Regions from separate parts of the Homo sapiens genome. Here region 1 is linked to region 2. The links are contacts of gene promoters, found by promoter capture Hi-C in blood cells and fetal thymus (Javierre and others, 2016). All regions are on one chromosome and are shown on one strand. Each heading gives the region's core, a stretch centred on a gene start or on the middle of the fragment in contact. The rest is flanking DNA. Distances are from core to core; before and after follow the strand shown. Region 1 overlaps MACROD1 (mono-ADP ribosylhydrolase 1). Region 2 holds the start of MACROD1 (mono-ADP ribosylhydrolase 1).

What was found. Contacts are between HindIII fragments. The CHiCAGO score rates a contact against its expected background, and 5 or more counts as called.
Region 1: a contact is called between a fragment that was not itself captured here and the fragment with the promoter of MACROD1 in region 2, in 8 of 17 cell types (M0 macrophages, endothelial precursors, M1 macrophages and 5 more). The highest score is 8.0, in M0 macrophages.

Annotation. Positions count from the first base shown.
Region 1 is chr11:64,002,044-64,007,676 of GRCh38, forward strand. The region is part of intron 4 of MACROD1 (mono-ADP ribosylhydrolase 1); the gene reads right to left. Among named protein-coding and RNA genes, the nearest start is that of OTUB1, 18 kb to the left of the region's middle. The HindIII fragment of the contact is 4,282 bases long and covers 755-5,036 here.
Region 2 is chr11:64,162,586-64,167,787 of GRCh38, forward strand. MACROD1 (mono-ADP ribosylhydrolase 1) reads right to left here and starts at 3,528. Exons shown (of 11, transcript NM_014067.4): 1 at 3,112-3,528. The coding sequence starts at 3,409. LOC105369339 (a long non-coding RNA gene) reads left to right here and starts at 3,653. Exons shown (of 3, transcript XR_950187.3): 1 at 3,653-4,004. RefSeq lists an enhancer at 3,047-3,547 and silencers at 3,085-3,184, 3,315-3,394, 3,655-3,914. The HindIII fragment of the contact is 18,296 bases long and covers 1,138-5,202 here.

The sequences.
Region 1 (5,633 bases), core at 1,646-4,145, 160 kb before region 2:
GAATGGAGGTCATGAGTGTATCCTGTTATTAACAACAGTGTGACAGTGTGGGCATGTTCGGGTATGTGTACATCAGTGTGATGGGAGGTGGGTGCACACAGGGTGTTCACAGTGTGTGGGGGTGAGCCCAGGGATCTGTCTGAGCTGGCTCTCCTAGGAGCCTCCCGGGTCGAGCACCTGGCACCGGCTGCTCGAAGTCTCTGGGGGCTCACCGCCCTGCAGGCGACCTCGGCCAGCTGTGGGGGCCCGTGCGGGGAAGTGGAGCTCAGTGTTTCAGGAATTTAATGTTTCCTGCGGAAGTGGACTGGCCTGCAGCCAGGCCTTTGGGGCTGACCTGGGGGCGCAAGGGAGGTGGAGGGAGCTGGAATCAATGCTGGCAGAGGGCTCAGGCCAGATGCCCCCTCCTCACCCCCAGCAGTTCCAGAACAGGGCCTGGGCCAGGTGATGGCTCTGCAGGGGCCCCAGGGAGGGGCTCCCCTAAAGCAGAGATGAGGGACAGGTCACTGTCAGCCCACTGCTACCCCAACAAGCTAGAGTGCAGCCTGGCCCCTCTTGCCTGCGTGTCCCTCCCTGTCCACACACCAGCCTTCTCGCTCTCTCCCCTGAGAGTGCAGAGGGGAACCCCCCCACCCTGCTCTCCTTAGCCATAGGCCCAAAGGACCCCTCCCACACACACTCCCAGAGTCCCCTTAGCTCTGCCCTCCAGGCCCTGTCCTGGCTCTTACCTGGGGCTAAGCTAGGTCCTAGAGACTCAAGCTTCCTGGGGTCCCATTCAGGGGAGATGCCCTTCCTTCCCTCTTCCCTCTTCCCACCCCACCCCAAGGCAGCTGGAAAAGACCAGCAGCCCTGATCCCTGGGGCTACCTGGTGGAGGTGGGGTATTCCCAGTTCACAGGAGCTGACCAACCCTTAGTCTCCTCTCCAGGGCCCTCAGCCACCAAAACAAACCTCCAGGCTCCAGCTCAACCCTCACCCCAAGTCAGCAGAAAACCTGGGGTCTTTCCTGGGGAGGCAGAGCCCACTTGGGTGGCGGGACCCCCCTGAGATGTTTCTCCATCAGGTCAAAGATGAAGCCTTCCTCCACCTGTGGCCAGAAGATGGCCCCTAAGGCCCCTCTGCCTCCTCCCTGCAGCCCCTTCTTCCCTCCACCCTCCTCTACCGTTAAACTCCCCCTGATATGGCTCCTTCATATCAGCCCTCTGTCTCACTATATCATCCAGGCTGGAGTGCAGTGGTGCAATCTTGGCTCACTGCAACCTCTGCCTCCTGGGTTCAAGTGATTCTTATGCCTCAGCCTCCCGAGTAGCTGAGCTTACAGGGGCGCACCACTATGCCCAGCTGATTTTTTGTATTTTTAGTAGAGATGGGGTTTCACCATGTTGCCCAGGCTGGTCTTGAACTCCTGACCTCAAGTGATCCACCCGTCTCAGCCTCCCAAAGTGCTGGGATTACAGATGTGAGCCTGTGTTTTTTTGAGACAGGGTCTTGCTATGTTGCCCTGCCTAAGCCTCCTAAGTAGCTGGTATGACTCACCCCCCATGGCCTTTGTCAGCCTTCTTGTTGGGTAAGCACCTGCGTGGTGATTTACAGCCGCTGTCTTATTATTTTTCCTGTTTATAGAAGAAGAAACTGAGGCACAGAGAGCAAAACTTGCCCACACGGCTGGAAGGTTGGGCTCCCAACCTCAGTGGCTCTGCTTCCTCTGGGACCACTAAAGGGCCTCGCCCTGAACCACTCTGGCTGACTGGTTTGAATGGCCCCCTGTCCACGCTCTTGGGGAGGCAGTGTCTCCCCACATCAGCACGTCCCCTTCCAGCAGGGGGGCTGCCCTGGTGGCCTCTTGTTGCACAGTGTTCTGAGGCCACTGTCTTTCTGGACGGTTTGGCTGCCCCCAGCGCTGACGGCTCCCTCCATCCAGCGGGACTTCCCGTCTCCTTCGTGGGCTCTCGTTCCTCAGGCCGCTCCTCAAATGCCACTGGGGCTCTGCCTGCCCTCGCCTGAGCCCGGAGGAACCTCTTTCTGCCCCAAGCCCTGGCCTCTGAGCGGCCCTTGACCCTCCGCCCCATCTTAGGCATCTCCCTGCTTTGCTGTGGTAAAGCCCTGCCTTCCAGCCTCCACGGCCAGCATTCAGCCCAGCATCTGTGCGCCTCCCATGGAAGGATGTTGTGGAAGGAAGGAGGGCTGGGCTGAGTGATTGCCCATGGCCCTGGGCATTCCTGGGGCAGTGGAGGGCACCAGGAGTGGGCAGTCCTCAGAGCCAGCAGAGGCGGAAGGCAGGCAGGCTCCGGTGGGGCCATCCGCCAAGGCGCTTAGGATGAGTTGGCCGCTATTTAGGGTGCTGTAATATGCATGAAGGGAAGATTAGATATTTAAATTTATTCAGCAATAAATGCATCTCAGTGGGGGAGCATTCCTCATGCTAAACAAACAAGCAGGCAGGGGCTAATTAATTATTTACAGGAACATAAGGAGGCCTGTGGCCCACAGGACCAGGAGGGCAGCTGTGCCCCTACCGAGGGCAGGGCACCCCAACCCGCAGGCCTGGACCTGCTCCTGGTCTCTCTCTGCTCCCCCATTCCCCCTACCATCCCGTGGGGCTGGCCCACGCTGTGCCCTCTTTGGGATTTCTCTTCCCAGAATTCCTGGCCACGAGATTGCTGGTGGTTTGGGGCAAGTCACTTAACCTCTCTGAGTCTCAGAGCTCTGGCCTCCAGAGACTGGTGGGGGCTGGGAGGGGTGACTCATGCCTGTAATCTCAGCACTTTGGGAGGCTGAGGTGGGAGGGTCACTTGAGCTCAGGAGTTCGAGACCAGCCTGGACAACATAGTAAGACCCCATCTCAAAGAAAAGAAAAAAGAGTGGTGGGGAGCACTGAGATATGCTGGAAGGTGTCAAGGGGGATGGGAGACTGAGGGCCAGGGGGGTTAAGCAACCTGTCCAAGGCCCCACAGTGAGAGGAGGAGCAGAAACTAAGATCCACTTTATTTATTTATTTATTTATTTATTGAGACAGTTTTTTGCTCGTTGCCCAGGCTGGAGTGCAATGGCATGATCTCAGCTCACTGCAACCTCCGCCTCCCGGGTTCAAGCAATTCTCCTGCCTCAGCCTCCTGAGTAGCTGGGATTACAGGCGTGTGCCATGATGCCTGGCTAGTTTTTGTATTTTTAGTAGAGGTGGGGTTTTGCCATGTTGGCCAGGCTGGTCTTGAACTCCTGACCTTGTGATCCGCCCGCCTCGGCCTCCCAAAGTGCTGGGATTATAGGCGTGAGCCACCGCGCCCGGCCAAGACCCACATTATTAACCCTCATCGTACAGAAGTAGTGATAGGCTCAGAGAGGCAAAGCCACTTTCCCAGAGCCACACAGCAAAGTGTAAGGCCTTGCCTGGGCAGCTCTTGCCCCTGGCCCCCACCTTCCTAGACTCCTGTGGGCCCCAAGAGCAGGGAGGTGAACAGGAAGGGGGGCCTGGGCAAGGTTGTGGGGGTGAGTGGGGCCTGGGCTGGCTGGGTGTCCAGCCTGCTGCCCTGTGACTGCAGCGTCTGGCCCTGCCTCTCAGGTGCCGAGTCTCATACCTCTCTGGCTCAACCTCACGCCTCTGAAATGAGCTTTTGGGGGCTGTATGGGAGGATCCCCTTTTTACAGATGGGAGGCTGAGGCTCAGCCATGGACTTCACAGGCAGGGGATTCCTTTGCCCTGTCATGCTTTTGGGGGCCTTGTACCCCAGGGACTGGCTGCACTGCCAGGGTGGAGATGCCCCTGAGAAGGCAGGCAGGAGGGCTGGAGACAGAGGGCCTTGGGGAGGCAGAGGTGTGAGCTGGGGTTTGAGGGAGGGGTGTGTCTCCCCTCCAGCCCAGGAAGGACCAGGGGTCTGGGCTCCAGGGACCACTCCCGCCTGGACGGGCTGGGCACAGCCTGGAGGGCATTGGCAGCCAAGCCTCGGTGCAGCCCATGCTGGTTTCCCTCTCTGGAGGAGGGCTACAGAAATACCAGATGCCAAGGCAGAAAGGGACAAGGCTCCCGGGGAAATGGGGGAAACTGAGTCTCTGAGAGGGTACCAACTGCGTCAAGGGCAGACATCTGACTTGCTGCCCCAGGCTTCTAACCCTGCAGAGGGAAGGTTTAGCCACAAAGACCGGATAAGTGACCTACCCAAGGGTCTTGCGCTCTCTTCTCTCCCAGCCCACTCCTCATTCTCCACCTCTGGCTTCTATTCAACTAGGCCAAGACCTGAGCGATATCCCATTGCCGGAACCATCTTTGCTTCTGCTCACACCCTCCTGGTCGGCCATTCAATCAACAAACTCTAGCCAGCCCCGGCTCTGTGCTAGGCTTGAGCTCAGCCCAGCAGGGTGCAGAGCCCATCCTCACCAGGCCCCACCCTCTCGGTGCCAAGGCGGGTGGGTGCCCGGGGGAGAAGATGGATGGACGACAGTTCTGTGATGAGATCTGAAATTCATTACGGGGTGAGATCAGCTCCTTAAATGGGGATTTGAAAACATTAGGGCTTCATTATGTACACAACGGCAGTGCCTCATTCATCATGCAAAAATCACTCCCGTTATTAAAAATCCCTGTGGCAGCTGCATGCCGGGGCTTGGTGGCATCGTGCCTGCTGGGGACAGAGCAGGAGCTCCACAGCCCTGCCTGGTCAAAGTTGTGGCCACGGGACAGGGGCCCCAAGTCCCAGCCTCCCTCTTACACAGGGGCCAGCTGCGGGGTGGGGCGGGAAGTGAGGTTCAGCTCCAGGGACTTAGTGCCTCAGTTTCTCCACCTGCAAAATGGAGACGCTAATGATGCCTCCCATAGGGCGGGGTGAGGGTGTATGAGATTCTTCAGGGAGAGGTTCAAAGGGTGCTGGTGGCCATGTCGTAAGTACTGAGAATGCCTGGCTGCCGTTGGCACCATCATCAACTGGGGTCAGGCAGGGGTGGCAGGAAGGCCTGGGGGCCTTTCCTTGGGGAAGGGCACGCATCCCCTGTCATAAAACCTCCCATGGCTCCCAAGAGTACATGGAATAAAATCCTCAACTCCAACAAAGCTTTCCTGGACTCTCTGGGGCTCCCTGCAGCCTCCCTCTCAGATGAATTCACTGCCTCCCGCGCCCCTCCTACTGGTTCCAAACTCTACCATTCAAAAAATGCGTACGAGGGCTCGGGGGCGACGTGCCACGTGCCAGCCCTATGCAAGGGCCAGGAGTCCTGTGGCCGCAGCAGTTCTAGGGACGGGACACGCGGCTCTAAGTTGTGGGCGTGGTGAAAAAGGAGAAGGGGAAAATGGAGCTGGCCCCGAGGAAGGAGGGAGGGATGGGCGCCGTTCAGAGGATGAGGTGGCCCCTCCGAGGAGGTGGCATTGGAGCAGAGCCCTGAGTAATGAGAAAGAACTGGCTTTGGAAGGAGATGGGGAGGAGAGTCCGGGATGAGAGTCCGGGCGGAGAGCTCAGGAAGGGCAGAGCCCTGTGGCAGGAACAGGCCGGCGGGTGAGGCTGGGAGGGAGCGCTGCCTCTACAGGACCTCCCGGGAGGTGCGAGGAGTCGAGCAATTGGGAATTGATTCGAGCGCGGTGGGAAGTTTCCATCAGTGAAGGGACGTGTTCTGGTTCGGCCTCTGGACCCTCTTCTGTTCCCTCTTCTGGAC
Region 2 (5,202 bases), core at 2,278-4,777:
GGGCAGATCACGAGGTCAGGAGATTGAGACCATCCTGGCTAACACAGTGAAACCCTGTCTCTACTAAAGAATACAAAAAATTATCTGGGCATGGTGACGGGCACCTGTAATCCCAGCTATTCGGGAGGCTGAGGCAGGAGAATGGCATGAACCCAGGAGGAGGAGCTTGCAATGAACCAAGGTCGCGCCACTGCACTCCAGCCTGGGTGACAGAGCAAGACTCCATCTCAAAAAAAAAAAATTTAAGAAAATTGGCCAGGCCCAGTGACTCACGCCTGTAACCCCAGCACTCCGGGAGGCCGAGACGGGCAGATCACGAGGTCCGGAGATCAAGACCATCCTGACTAACACGATGAAATCCTATCTCCACCAAAAACACAAAAAAATTAGCCGGGCGTGATGGCACGCGTCTGTAATCCCAGCTACTGGGGAGGCTGAGGCAGGAAAATCACTTGAACCCCGGAGGCGGAGGTTGCAGTGAGCTGAGATCACACCACTGCACTCCAGCCTGGGCAACAGAATAAGTCTTCATCTAAAAAACAAACAAACAAACAAACAAACAAACAAAAATTAGCCGGGTATAGTGGTGGGTGCCTGTAATCCCAGCTACTCAGGAGGCTGAGGCAGGAGAATCACTTGAACCCGGGAAGCAGAGGTTGCAGTGACATCACACCACTGCACTCCAGCCTGGACAAAAAGAGTGAAACTGTCTCAAAAAAAAATTTTTTTAAGAAAATAAAAACACACCTTCAAATTCTTTGAGATTCTTTCTTTCAAGAGGTAGAGCCTAATTTCCCTCTCCTGGAGTATGGCCAGACTCCCTGACTCGATTCTGACCCCTAGAATAAAGCAGGAGAGACTTCGAAGACGAGGTCACAAAGAAGGCACTGCAGCTCCATCGGGGTCTCCTCACGATCCCTCTCGTGGAGCATATGCTCTGGGGGAAAAGCTTAGGACATCTATCCCATGTGAGGCACTCAAGCAGCCCCATGGAGAGGCCCCAAAGTGACCAACCGAGGCCTCTCACCAAATGCCATTTTATGGGAGGGAGCTGTTTAGGAAGCCCATCCTCCAGCCCTAACCAAGTCCCACCCGGCCTCAGAGGGAGGGAGACCCTGAGCTAGAACCACCCAGCTAAGCTTCTCTCAGTTTCCTGACCCTCAAGAGATGGAGAGAATGCAGGTTTGCTGTTTTACGCCACTAAGGTTCGGGGTGTTTTGTTACACAGAAATAGATAACTATTGGGGGATCTCCACATCTCACCCCCGAAAGCGTCCCTCTAACTGTGGCTTCAGTAGCAGGCAGAGCCCCAGACCAGCCCCACTCCTTGGGCCTGGCCCACTGTCACTCAATAACGGGTCTGGAATATCATTACCCAGCTGGATGCCTCTTCTCAGGCCACCACCCCTGAGACGCCTCCTCTGATCTCCCCAGCTCAGGTGGCCCCATCTGCTATGGTGTCTTCACAGCACTGAGGTTACCGGGCCTTGTCTCAGCTGCTAGAACACATTCTTTACAATAGATGCTTTGTAATCCTCACACCAGATTACAAGCTCCATGAGGGCAGGGCCCTTGCCTATCTGACACATGTCTGAGTCCCCAGCCTGACCACCTAGGGGGCGTTCAATAAAAGTTTGCTGCATGATTGGAAATCCCACCTCGAAGCAAAAGGGAGACCCCAGTGACAACACAGCAGCCCAGGAACCCCAGCCCCATCACAAGGTCCGGTTGCTTTCCTGGCACCAAGGAGTGGGGCTGTGGGGGCTGGATCCTAAAAACAGCGGCAGCCCTCGAGCAGGTGCCTGGGCACCTTGTCTCCGTAGCTCTTTCCCACCCTCCTGGGTTGTTGTCCTCTGAGAGAGTGCTCAGGGGAGCAGGGGTCTCTGTGGGGACAGTGGCTCCCCCTCCAGGGGTCTCTGCCAGCCCCAAACTCCTCCTGCTGTTCTGGGGCAAGGGCCAAGTGCCTGACAAGTTCTCCATCTGCTCACGGGCTAAAGTCGGTGCTTTCTGCCGTCACTTTTAGATCCTGGCGCAGGCCACACAATTCATGTCAGGAGTAAATCATTTTGATTTCCACCTCTGGTCCCGAGAAAGCCATCTTCTCTTCACCCCTAACACCGCAGGACCCCCCCATCCTGCCTGCCCAGCCCAGAGGCCACACCTACTCCACCACGGAGGCCCAGCCAATTAGCCACTTCCCTGCACTTTTGAAAGGGGATCCAGCCGGGAAGAGTCACAGGATCCCAGGAGGCAGGCCCTGAAAGGCAGGGGCAGCTGGGTGCCCGGCAGGGCTATTTGGGGCTCAGTAGCGGCAGCTTGGGTTCTCTCTCTCCCCAGGCCCCAGACTCATGCCCCCTCCAGGAGCAAGAGGAAGTGGTGTGATTCTTGAAGGGTGTCATCAGTTGTCACAGGGACAAGACCCCACCTCTGCCCTGCTCCTCTAACCTCTGTTCCTGGCATGAGCAAACTGCTCACAAGTGGCCAGAGGCCAGCGAGAAGGGGAAAAGGGCGCCAGACCACGTGCCCAGGAAGGCATCAGAGTGCGGGCTTGGGGTGGGGTGGAGGCAGGACAGGCCAGCCCAGGAAGGTCACTCTGTGAGGTTACGTGCCCCACCAGGTGGGACGCCAGCCCCGGAGCTGTTCCCTCAGCCCCATTCCCGAACACTTAAGAACCACACTGTGCAAAGTTTGGAGAGTCCGGGATCATAACCTCCACTTTGCCACCAGCTCCGAGTGACCTTGGGGAAGCCAGCTGTGGCACTCGGCCTCAGTTTCCCTCCTGCACAGGGAAGGAAGTTGGTAGGTCCTGCACAATCTCTGGGGTGCCCTGTGACCCATTCCAATGGGGTAAGGAAGGCCGCCTTCCTCACGCTGCCCCCTGCGTGGACACTTGGACCTGGTCTGGAGTGAATTGTTCTGTGGGGCTGGGAACACGCGCGGGGGCGGGGGGGGCTGTCAATGGGGAGGAGGGGTCCGTTCCAGGGCAGATGGGGCCTCAACTTCCCCAGGTCTCTCGGGTGGAAGGGGCTGCTCGCTCGTTGGGGGCCGCCCAGCCGGGAAGCTCCACGTGAGGCCGCCCTCTCCCTCGCGCCCCCTCGTGCTTACACTTACATTTCGCCTCCTTCCAGTCGGTGGAGGTGCTCAGGTCCACCTTCGCCGCCATGGCCAGGGGGGCCCAAGTGCGCACCCCGGCTGTCCGCCCCACCGCCGCCGCCCCCCACGCCCCAACTCCCGCCGAGGTCCGCGCACGGCGGCCGAACACGCCCAGGAACGCCGGGGGACCGCACGTGCTGCTGCGGGTCCTCGTGGCACCCGCCAAGTGTCCGGGCCGGGGGCGCGGGGGGACGAGCAGCTGCCCCGCCGCGCGCAGCTGTGCCAGGCGGCCGGACAGTCGGCTCTGTAGAGACATGAGCGGGCGGCGCGGGACGGCTCTCCGCCCACTTGGACTCTATTTACGGCGCTCGGGAGTGTCTCTCCCTTATTTACTCTGGGACCGGGTGGCGACTGCCAGCCAGCGGCGACCTGCTCGGAGCCAGCGGGAGGCGCGGCCAGAAAACCCGGGAGCGCCGCTGGGCACCCTGGAACTTGTAGTCCGGGCCGCCGGATGGGCCCACGCACTCGTATACACACGTGCGCGCCCGCCCGGGCTCCCAGTGTCGCGGATGGAGCCCCGCCTGAGCCCTTCGACTTCTCCCGTGGCCGCCAGGCGCCTCCCCTCCGCGAGACCTCGGCCGCCTCTAACTTTCTGGTTGGCTGAGCGTCGGCTTCCCCGGCACGGGCTGAAGCCCCCGGGCCTTCCACGCAGCCCCGGGCCCCTCTGCCGCTCGGCCCCGCGGCGGAGCAGGCGCGCCGGCCGCTGCGTATCGAGCTGGGAGAGCCTGGCGCGGCTTCCGCAGTGCCGAGCGTTTTGCAGCCTGGGAGACCCGGGCTTCTCTCCCCGCGGGTCAGCAGGGCACCGCCTCCACACCCCAGCCTGCCCTCCTAGGGACAGGTGCGACGAACGGGTAAATCCGGTTTGGGGACTTCTCCCCAGAGCCTCTGCCTTCTAACAGCCCCGGGGCCAAGGCTCAGCTGGAGCAGAATCTAGGACAGCTGGGGAGGAGAGTCGAGGGTGGAAATAGTGGAATTTGGAGGCAGGAAACTTAGGCTTCAAGTGGCGTTCAAGGGTGGAAGGATTGGGGTGATGTTTTTGTGTGTGTCTGTGTGTTTTTTTTTTTTTTTCTTTTCTTTTTTAAACAAAAACCGGCCGGGCGCGGTGGCTCACGCCTGTAATCCCAGCACTTTGGTAGGCCGAGTTGGGTGGATCACGAGGTCAGGAGTTCGAGGCCTGCCTGGCCAACATGGCGAAACCCCGTCTCTACTAAAAATACAAAAATTATGCAGGCGTGGTGGTGCATGCCTGTTAATTACAGCTACTCGGGAGGCTGAGGCAGGAGAATCACTTGAACCCGGAAGGCGGAGGTTGCGGTGAGCCGAGATCGTGCCATTGCACTCCAGCCTGGGTGACAGAACGAGACTCTGTCTCAAAGAAAACAAAACAAAAAACACGAGGATGGATTTTTAAGTACTTTTATATATTTTTATGTACTATTAATATTACTTTATGATAAATATAATGAATACAGGCCGGGCCATTATAATAATATAATGAATGTAATAATGAATAATGAATAAGTGCTCACACCTGTAATCCCAGCACTTTGGGAGGCTGAGGCAAGAGGATTATTAGAGGCCAGGAGTTCAAGACCAGCCTGGGCAATATAGTGAGACCCCCTCATCTCTACCCGCCCCCACACAAAAAAATTACCCTGGTATGGTGGTAGACACTCACCTCTAGTCCCAGCTACTCCAGAGGCTGAGGCAGGCAAACACTTGAGCCCAAGGGTTCAAGGCTACAGAGAGCCATGATGGCACCACTGCACTACAGCCTGGACGACACAGTGAGACCCTATCTCAAAAGTAATAATAATAATGAATATATTTTAATACGAGGGAGGAACGAGCCAGGGTTTCAGAGAAGGTTCTAGTACTAGTGTTGCTGCCCTAGGGTACCCTAGCCCCTTAAGACTCAAACTTCTTGAGCTGTCAGCTAGGAATAAGAGAGTCTGGCTGGTTGCAAACCTGCTCCTGTGCTCCAGGCCTCTGACTCTGAGTGTGGCAATAACCATGGATGGCCGTACGAGGATCCCTGACCTGCCATGG